Regions from separate parts of the Homo sapiens genome. Here region 2 is linked to region 1. Evidence: promoter capture Hi-C in 16 types of primary human blood cells and fetal thymus (Javierre and others, 2016). All regions are on one chromosome and are shown on one strand. The core of a region is centred on a gene start or on the middle of the fragment in contact, and the rest is flanking DNA. Distances in the headings are between cores, read along the strand shown.

Evidence for each region. The method cuts DNA at HindIII sites, captures the fragments that hold promoters and counts their contacts. A CHiCAGO score of 5 or more calls a contact.
Region 2: a contact is called between a fragment that was not itself captured here and the fragment with the promoter of CA12 in region 1, in 1 of 17 cell types (activated CD4 T cells). The highest score is 6.1, in activated CD4 T cells.

Annotation. Positions count from the first base shown.
Region 1 is chr15:63,378,053-63,383,169 of GRCh38, reverse strand. CA12 (carbonic anhydrase 12) reads left to right here and starts at 1,324. Exons shown (of 11, transcript NM_001218.5): 1 at 1,324-1,534. The coding sequence starts at 1,450. RefSeq lists enhancers at 600-1,119, 1,120-1,640. The HindIII fragment of the contact is 7,810 bases long and covers 1-4,764 here.
Region 2 is chr15:63,034,603-63,039,720 of GRCh38, reverse strand. No RefSeq gene overlaps it. Among named protein-coding and RNA genes, the nearest start is that of TPM1, 5.6 kb to the left of the region's middle. The HindIII fragment of the contact is 3,792 bases long and covers 1,074-4,865 here.

The DNA.
Region 1 (5,117 bases), core at 75-2,574:
GGCTCAACCAGTTCTGCGATCCCACCCAGGAACAGAAGACTGCAAGAAAACGTTACTTCAACCCCCCTGTGATCCCATCTGCAACCTGACCAATCAGCACTCCCCAAGTCCCAAGCCCCTATCTGCCAAATTATCTTTAAAAACTCCCAGAGGCAGGGTGCAGTGGTTCAACGCCTGTAATCCCAGCACTTTAGGTGGATCACGAGATCAAGAGATCAAGACCAGCCTGGCCAACATGGTGAAACCCCGTCTCTACTAAAAATACAAAAATTAGCTGGGTGTGGCGGCGCGTGCCTGTAATCCCAGCTACCCAGGAGGCTGAGGCAGGAGAATCGCTTGAACCCGTGAGGCAGAGGTTGCAGTGAGCCAAGACCATGCCACTGCATTTCAGCCTGGGCGACAGAGGGAGACTCCGTCTGAACAAACAAACAAACAAACAACTCCCGGAATGCTTGGGGAGACTGATTTGAGTACTGGAATCCCAGTACTTTAGGAGGCCAAGGTAGGTGGATCATTTGAGGTCAGGAGTTCCAGACCAGCCTGGCCAACATGGTGAAACCCCGTCTCTACTAAAATTAGAAAAATTAGCCGGGTGTGGTGGTGGGCGCCTGTAATCCCAGCACTTTGGGAAGCCAAGGCAGGTGAATTATCTGAGGTCGGGAGTTTAAGGCCAGCCTTAAACTGGCGAAACCCCGCCTCTACTAAAAATACAAAAATTATCTGGGCATGGTGGCATGTGCCTGTAATCCCAGCTACTCGGGAGGCTGAGGCAGGAGAATCGCTTGAACCCGGGAGGCGGAGGTTGCAGTGAGCCGAGATCACGCTATTGCACTCCGGCCTGGGCAACAGAGCGAGACTCCGTCTCAAACAAACAAACAAAGGAACGAAAACCTCCGGTCTCCGGCACGGCAAGCTCTGCGTGAATTACTTTCTCCATTGCAACTCCCCTGTCTTGATAAATGGGCTCTGTCTAAGCAGCGGGCAAGGTGAACTCGTTGGGCTGTTACAGGACCAGTGACAGACCAAGGGCATGCCACTGAAGGAATCCCTAGACGCACCCTTCTGGATGTGAGACAGGCGGATCTCACCCACGCCTGCCAGCAGCTCCTCGGAGAACTGTGTTCCTGGGTCAGCCCTGGCCCAGAGGAGCGCCGGGGACCCGCAGAGTGCTGCTGAAGTCAAGGCTACAACTCACCTAGGATCTGGGGCGCCAGCCCTCCGGTGGGCAGGGCGTTCTCCTCCCCCACCCCCTCCCCGCACGATGACATCAAGTGTTTGGCGTTGAGTTGCTCCATAAAAGCTGCCCGGGGAAGCCAGGAGAGCGAAGGGCGGACGTACTCGCCACGGCACCCAGGCTGCGCGCACGCGGTCCCGGTGTGCAGCTGGAGAGCGAGCGGCCACCGGGAGCCCCCGGCACAGCCCGCGCCCGCCCCGCAGGAGCCCGCGAAGATGCCCCGGCGCAGCCTGCACGCGGCGGCCGTGCTCCTGCTGGTGATCTTAAAGGAACAGCCTTCCAGCCCGGCCCCAGTGAACGGTAAAGTTTCCGCCTGCTTCTTTCCTAACACTCCTGAGCGCTCAGCCGCCCCTGGGCTGAAGGCTCTTCAATGATAAAGTAAAATCATTGCTGCGGGGAGCAGGGAAGGTGTAGTACCAAATAGTAGATTCTCAAGAAAGGATGCTCCGTTTTCCTTTGCTGAGGTTGGGTCGGGAAGCACGTTGCTTTCTAGTGGCGCTTGGCGCAGATTTGGTGTTAAAATGTTTGCGTGTACTCCCGGGCACCGCCAGCTCTGAAGATGTGGCTTGGGAACTTGCTAACCAGGGAGGAGATGCAAAGCCAAGATTTAAAACAGCGTTCCCCTGATCCACGTTTAGAAAGTAGAGACATGACTGTGGCATTCTGATTGGGGTAAGCACAGAGAAAGGTTTGCTGTGCCCCTGTGCAGAACCCGCAGACAGTGGTAGGCGCTTTTCTTTGGAGGAGAGGATCTTTACCATTAAGTCTTACCTACAAGTCAAAGGGATGATGCATCCCATTCTTAATCATTGTTTTTCTCCAGGAGGGCTCTACTATGCTGAATGTACGTGTGTGTGCACGTACACACACACACGCACGCGCGCACGCACACAAACCACACACACACACACACACACACACACAGCATATTTCTGATTGTAATTAGAACACTAAATCCCAAAAGGCTGGAGGCTGAGGGACTGAATGGAGGCTCCGTGGAGTGACAGGAGGAGGTGGCAGAGGGGACCTGAACTGTGGGCTCACGCCGGGCCAGTGAGCTAACACGTGTACAGCCAAGGCTGGTTCATTAATCTTTTGGAATAAGAAAGTGATTTTGGACCGAAAGTGATTTTACTGGCTGAAACTAGATTCTTCCTGGCGAGGCAGTGGTGGTGGGAAATGTGTCCTGCTCAGCAGCATAAAAGCTCTGAGCCTCCTCTCTTGGAGGTCACAGTGCCCATGGGGAAGGGCAGGGGAGCCAGGCTGTGGATAACTCTTAATTAAATTCCAGTCAACTAGCTGGCATGATGTGCTTGATATTATCTCCCTCATCTGGTCAGGGAGAAACAGAAGCGATGTAACAGAAGTTGGGAGAAAGGAGCGATGTAAAAGTGAAAATCAAGTTTTAAAACCACAAACTTTACATGTTTCCTTTTACGAAAGCTGCACTGAGACCAAAGTTTCCCTGGAAATCTCTTTAGTCCTAAGTTGCTCCAAGACCAAAGGGAGAAACAGCCATTAGTTGGCCCTCTTTCCTATAGCTGGTTGCTCCTCTCACTCTGGGGCAGCTCTGCCTCCCTTCTCTCTCTTTTCCTGCCCTTCCCTGTTCTCTTCCCTCCCTCCCCTTCCTTTCTTCCCTACTTTCCCTGCTCTTCCTCTTCCCTCTCCCTTTCCCTCCTCCTTATCTCCTCTCCCAATTCTCCAAGTTGGGACTGGGGAAGTTTGTAGTCAAAACTCCACTTTCGCCTCACTCTGAGGAAGGAGACTGCCTACCCCTGGGTAGAGCACAGCTTTTATTCTGTAAATTCTCATGCAGTTTCCTTGGGTTTTTAACTGCCTTAGAGGACAGGTCAAAGCAAAAATCACTGAGGTGTAGAATGTCAGCATGAACCCAAAGTTGGAGGTGGAGAGGAGTTAAGCTGAGTAATGGGGTCAAAGTGTGATCTGCTCTCTGCCTGGTGCATTTAAACTTCCAGCATTGGAGAATGTTCAAGAACAATGTCAGGGGCCCAGGAGGGAGCATAATAATGTGAAGTCAAGTGTCTTCTGGAGAAACCCTTGGAATTCTTAGTTGCCGTGGCTTTGGGGGGCATTTCAGTGAATTCTGCAGAGCTTGCCCTGCCCAAACCTGGTGTGGAGAGCCAGGCAGTCTTGGGCTACCCAGGAGATGGTTACTCAGGGAAAGTTCTAGCACCCAGCACAGGAAGCAGGCAGGGCCCAGGACCTCTGATATGGATCTTGGTAAATACCATTTTCTCTGGGCATTCCCTCCAGGGGAACCTCCCTGCCCAGTACCAGCTGGGTCTGCAGGTTCTAACAGGTTTCAGGCTGAGCCTCCCAGGTTTCCCAGATGGAACAGATAACCTTCCTTGGGAAGGAAACTATTCCCCTCCAGGAAGGGCCTGCTCCCTCAGGATGCCACTGAGGCCTTGGCCTGGCCTCGCTTGTGGAATCAGTTTAATCCTTTTAAGCCTTCTGTTCTTACAGCTAGAAGTGGGGAACCAGGGGGTGCAATTCCTGAATAAAGCACACTTTCGTGCGCGTGCACACACACACACGCACACATACACACACTTTTAGAGAGACTTCCTGAGGTCAGAGCTGAGCTGGGGCCCTGATCCTCACCCGATGAACCCCCTTGACTCACCATCCTCACTTACAACGCCGCTTCTCCCCAGCCCTCCAGCTCCTGAGCCCCTCCAGACACTGCCATTTATACCCAAAGTGCCGAGTCTGGAGTCCCAAGCCAGCTCACTCACAGAGAGGAGGGCAGGGAATGTTGCTCTGGAGGCTGCTGCCTTTCAACAAGTCCCCAGTCCTATGTCACCACCGCGACCTCACAGTCCCAGATGTCCACTCTATGACTTTTAGCCCTGAGCTTTCCAGAGTGTGATGCTGAGGCCTCATCTGAGGATGAGAACTCCAACAACAGGGAAAACCTTGATTAGCGAGCCCTGGGAGGGTAGCAGAAGATGTAGGGTATAAGGCTATGATTTGAATGTGAGCAGGTACAATGCAAACTGCTGGCAAGGCAGCAGTGCTCAGGCAGCAGATGTGTTTCTAGTGGCCTCCAGGATCACTGGAGTGGCCTGTGCCTCCTCAGGGGAAAAGTAAGGGTGAACTCCTCTGTTATTTGTGGAATTTTACATCCTGGGCCTCCAACTGTTCTGCCTGCTAAGAGGTAATGATCTGGCTTATTATATCTCTAAGGTCTGGGATTACATCTTAATAATGAACCTCTCACACAAAAGACTGAAGAAAATGTCCAGAAGAGGTTTTATGTCTTCTATAGCTTGGTTTGAAAGCAATGCTTTCTTTATTTTTTTTCATTGTTGTTTCAGCAAAGGGGTGAGCAGTAAACTTGGGGGTCACATACAAGTTTGGTTTCCCCGTGGTTCTGAATGTCTAATTACTAATTCAAGGGAGGTTGATCTTGGGACCCTCAACTCTCAATGCACCCATAGCTGGTTTCAGGGGAGTCTGTGGACCTTCTGAAATGACTTGTATATAAAACTTTATGTGTCTAAGCTTAGGGAAATTTTTTTTTTGAGACAGAGTCTCGCTCTGTCACCCATTCTGGAGTGCAATGGCACAATCTCAGCTCACTGCAACCTCCGCCTCCCGGGTTCAAGCAATTCTCCTGCCTCAGCCTCCCCAGCAGCTGGGATTACAGGCACCCGCCACCACGCCTGCCTAATTTTTGTATTTTTAGTAGAGACAGGGTTTCACCATGTTGGCCAGGCTGGTCTCGAACTCCTGACCTCAGGCGATCTGCCTGTCTTGGTCTTCCAAAGTGCTGGGATTACAGGGGTGAGCCACCGTACCCAGCCAGCTTAGGGAAATTTTTACTGGGAGAGGTCCATAATACTCATCGGATACTCCA
Region 2 (5,118 bases), core at 1,720-4,219, 350 kb after region 1:
TGGTAGCATTGTACATCCCACCCAATTAAGTTGGCTGTGGCCATTTGACTTGCTTTGGCCAAGGAAACGTGAGCAGAAATGACTTCTGGTGGATACTTAAAGAGCTCACGACTAACCATGTTCATTTTTCAAGACTGTGGCTGCTCTGTCATTGTGGGTTTTCAAGTGGCTCCCTCTTTCCCCCCAACTAACCCTTGGTGGACATGTAGTGAGAATAAGATATAAATCTTTGTTATTTTAGGCCACTGAGATTGGGGGTTGTTTGTTACTGAAGCATAACTAGCTTCTCCTGACTAATACAGCACAATAGGCATGCATCAGCTAAGTTATGAAAAAGCAGAGAAGTGATTATAGAGAAAGAATGAAGCAGGCATATCAAGATAAACAGAAGCACCATTTAGAGAAAGAGATTGGGAGAATATGACCAAATTTCAGTTCCAGGGGTCCTTATAATAACCCCCTGTATTTCTTGAGGTTACATAAGCGAGTCTATATTCCTTGAAAGTAAAAAGCTTACCAAATCATGGTGGCATGACAGCCTGCACAACATTCAACATTCTTGGCCTAGAGGCTCTACGTGATCACCACGAACATGCTTGGAATTTCCAGATTTCTCCAGTGCCTGGTATTCAGTCATTTCTCAATGAATGTTTGTTGAACAATTTTTTTTATGACTGACAAGTCCAGCTTTCTTACTGACTTACAAGAAAGTCTGGGAAGGTAAAGTAACAAATCTAGGTTCAAAAGATCTTGTTTCCATTCAAAATATGGGCTCTGTGTCTTATTTCATGAAGAATGAATATAAGTATTGTGATAGGGTAAGACAAATGTCTCCAAATATTTATTGGACACCTTTTGTGTGCAAGACATTTAGGGCTTATGGGATCCAGGGAAGCAGACAAAAGACATGGATCTTTTTCTGTAGGAAAAGTGTCTATGTATGATGCAGGGAGAACCCTCTCTTTGGGAGTCATTTAATATGTATTTCCCATGGCATGACCATCAGCTCAGTTGGTCACCTGGGGCCCTCTATAGTTATGAGGATCACATATCTCGGGTTTTCTAGGAAAGCTTTAATATTAAATATGCTGCCTTTTTCCTTCCATAAAACACTTGTATGTGTCATACTACATTTATCAATATTTGGTTACAAAGGAGAGTCAACATGAGCATCATTTCCCAATGTGACACCTTTAACAGGAATGCCCACTTGAATATGTACATCAGGGTTTGTTTGTTTGAAAAAACAAAATGAAAACCTCATTACCTGATAGTCACCCCTTGTTTAACAGCAATAGCCCTGCCGGTGTACTGTGACTCCCCCAGAGTCAACAGTGCTGACTGAAGCAATTAAGGGAAAGTGAAGAATCTATAATTAAATGGAGAGACGACTGCTTCTTCGTCTCTTTTGGAATGCAGCGTTTTATGCTCACGACTCAGTGTCCCTGGAACAAGATACGGCATGCTCTCCTCAAACACTGGGAGTTGTGTTTCCCAAGGGTTTGTGATGCTACCATCAAGGCCTCACAGAAAATATGCTATGCTTCCTGGGGGCGGGGGGTGGGGCTGGTTTGGATCTCTGAGAAAGGTCTTTAGGCCATTTTCAAGGCGTGCCTGCCTTTATTGTTTAGTAACACACAGCTGGTCCTGATTCTTTGGAGAGGCCCTTGAGCACGCTTATTACCTGGAATGTTTGCATGGGCAAAATGATTGTCCCAGTACAAAAAAAAAAAGGCATAGGAGTTTTCCTGCCTTACCTCTTATTGTCTGTCTCTCAACAGTAGCAACTCAGTGTAGATTTAATCAAGCTCCAAGTGTGGCAGATTTAGCTGTCTTAAGAAAGGCGATATTCCTTCATGTTTGTATAGTTTATAAAGCACTTTCAAGTTCATTACCTCCTCCTCCCAACCTCTTATGACAGCATCAGGATGAGTTCTCTGATTTTCACTCTGTACATGAGAAAACCAGGCCGAGCACAGTGGCTCATGCTTGTAATCCCAGCACTTTGGGAGGCCAAAGCAGGAGGATCACTTGAAGCCAGGAGGTCAAAACCAGCCTGGGCAAATTTGTAGAGCTTCCCCCCATCTCTCCAAAAAACTTTAAAAATTAGCGGGGCATGGTAATTCACACCTGCGGTCCCAGCTACTCGGCAGCCTGAGGCAGGAGGATCGCTTGAACCCAGGAGTTTGAGGTTGCAGTGAGTGTGCCACTGTACTCTAGCCTGGGTGACAGAATGAGATCCTGTCTTGAAAAGAAAAAAAACCTAAACCAAAACAAAACCACACACACCAAGGGCAGTAACTGGTTCAAGACCACTCAGCTGGGAGGTGGCAGTGCAGGAACAAAAATGCAGATATCTGAACTCTCAGTAACAATGCCCTTTTCATTCATTCATTCCCAGCCTGTTTTTAGGTTCAGTTTGATTTCATATTTATTTTATGTTATTTTTATTATTATTATTTTTGAGACGGCGTCTTGCTCTGTTGCCTAGGCGGGAGTGCAGTGGCACTATCTCCGCTCACTGCAACCTCCACCTCCCGGGTTCAAGCGATTCTCCTGCCTCAGCCTCCCGAGTAGCTGGGATTACAGGCATGCGCCGCCACACCCAGCTAATTTTTGTATTTTTAGTAGAGATGGGGTTTTACCATGTTGGCCAGGCTGGTCTCGAACTCCTCACCTCAGGTGATCTGCCCACCTGGGCCTCCCAAAGTGCTGGGATTACAGCCGTGAGCCACCGCGCCTGGCCTTATTTCATATTTAAAAGCAATACATTATAAGGGGAAGGGGGGGGTCGCTAAGGTCGTTTCTACACGCAGAACGTGGTTAAAACATGATACTAATGAGGCTAAGATTGAAGGGTTGCCCTGACCTGCATGGGCCAGCTCACAACAGAAGCCTGGGCTCCTAAACCCTCCCACCCACTCTCAGTGATGGGAGAACCTAGTGAGAAAATGTTGTTAAGCCACCAAAATCTTTTTCCACTCTTGTGTTTATGACCAAAGGAGGGATAATAAGGACATCTTGAAGATAGAAAGGTGAGTATGTTAATTTTATTCCCAGTAGCTTTAATGGAGATTTGGGGTAATCAATAGATATCTACACTTGATTCCCTTAAAACCCTTGGGTTTGCAAAGGAATGAGCCACCAGTTAACCCAGGCAGTATGTTTGGGGGGAAAATGAAGAGAAAATTTGGGGCAAAACAGCAACTAGTGCCTCCTTAAGACCCAGCCTGCGCAGAAACGAAAGCGTCTGTACAGACTTCGCAGTCCAGAGCCTTGAAGGCCACGTCGGAGCCTTGGACTGGTTTCAATCATGACTTCCCAGCAAACCCTGCATTCTTTTCCTATTGAATGCCACCTGCTCATTTTTATATTTTTATACTTGCTTCTCAAGTTTCTGCTGATGTCCTTAACAGGAACATATGTGGAGGTGACCTTTGCAACCTCCTGAATGGCAAGTAAAGCCCCACCCTTACTTTGCAGACCATGAAATTCGATGCAAAAAAAAAAAAGCCCATGGAGGCGGATGGCCCAGGTGCCTCTCCTCTACTTGAGGTCTCGCTACAACCCACTCAGGCTCTAGGAGGCAGCCGTGTTAGGTAAATTCAAGATTAGGATTTCTAAACTTTTGTTTCTGCACCTATGCCAGACCTAGTGCTAACAGCTTAATTCTCAGTGGAGGTTATTTGATTTAGAGGCCTATGGGTGGGCCTAGGTTATTAAAAGTAAGCAATGGGCTTTCTTTTGGTTTTGTAAAGACCCTTTCTTGGCAGACTAGCAAAACCCATTTCCCCAAGGTTTAATTGGTTAACATGTAGGTTTAATCAAGCTCTATATGTGGGGGAATTTAGCTGTCTGAAGAATGGTGATATTCTCTTATATATGTGTAGTTTAAAAAGCACTTACAAGTTCGTTACCTCCTCCTACTCACCTCTCATGACAGCATCAGGATGAGTGTGCTAAAAGCAAAACCTTGTACCCCAGGGTTTAGCACTTTCTTCTGGGACCCTGAGTTCTTAAGAGAACCTGTTTTCTTGCTTTGATAGAAATTGCTGTTCCTCAATAGAAATGCTTCTCTGAGTATTTTGTCCTGAGGACCATTCTACCTCAGGAACTTCAGTGGAGGAAGGAGCCAGACTTTTCTTACTGCTTAAGGCGGAGGAAACTGTTCTTTTGCTGAGGTACTGCTGCTTGAGGAGGGAGCTCCATCAGGGCTGCCGGCAGAGTTCCAGAAGAGGCCAGTATTTTTAGCATGGCCTTCTTCACTTCCCAGCACCTGCCGTGATCTGTAACCCAAGGGGCTACTTAAATGCCACTGAGATGACTGAGGACAAGGCAGCCTGAGCTAATGTCCTAAAATACCACCCAAGGGAGGTTTTTCTTTTGGGAGCCATTTCATTTCTACCTCTTCTTGTTCCTTCCTAAGCTGTGGGGCTATTATAGATCCTGGCTGAGAAGTGCGACATCTGCCCTGGGAGGAAGTTAGAATAAAACCACTGGATCTATCTACCTTGATGCCAGCCATCTACCCTTGGCTCACAGTTTCTTTTTCTGTTGTTTGTTTGCCTGTTTTATTTTATAGTTCTGTGGTTCCTTCTTCCCCAAGGCTTCCAGTTTCAATCTTTCTACTGTCCTTGCCAGATGGAAGCAACAAAAGCATGTCCACACATATTTTTCCCAAAGCAAAGTCCTCTTTTGATATCCCTGAAAATAGGTGAAGGTGAGAGACAAAGGCAGGTCAAATGTTTCAGATGAGATGACAGTAAAGGGAAGGCAAACCCCTCTCCTAGCAAATATAACTCATGGAGCCCATTAGTCCATAAAGATGGTACAAGCTGGAAATAGAAATATGTTATCAAGAAGCTTGATACATTTGTGGAGGACAGATGCACCGTGGGTCATGAAGGATAATGAGAATGTCTTAGGATGTCTCTAATCCTGGAGTTTGACATCAGCCCATCCATCCACAGCATTCCTTGGCATCACTGTCAGATGTACAATGCTGGGCTGCTAAATCCTAGGGCTGACCCAGTGTGGAAGTTCTTACGTGCCTCTGCTAATTTCTCTGGCAACTCTAAATTCTCCCAAACACTGTGGAAGGCCTGGTATGAAATCAAG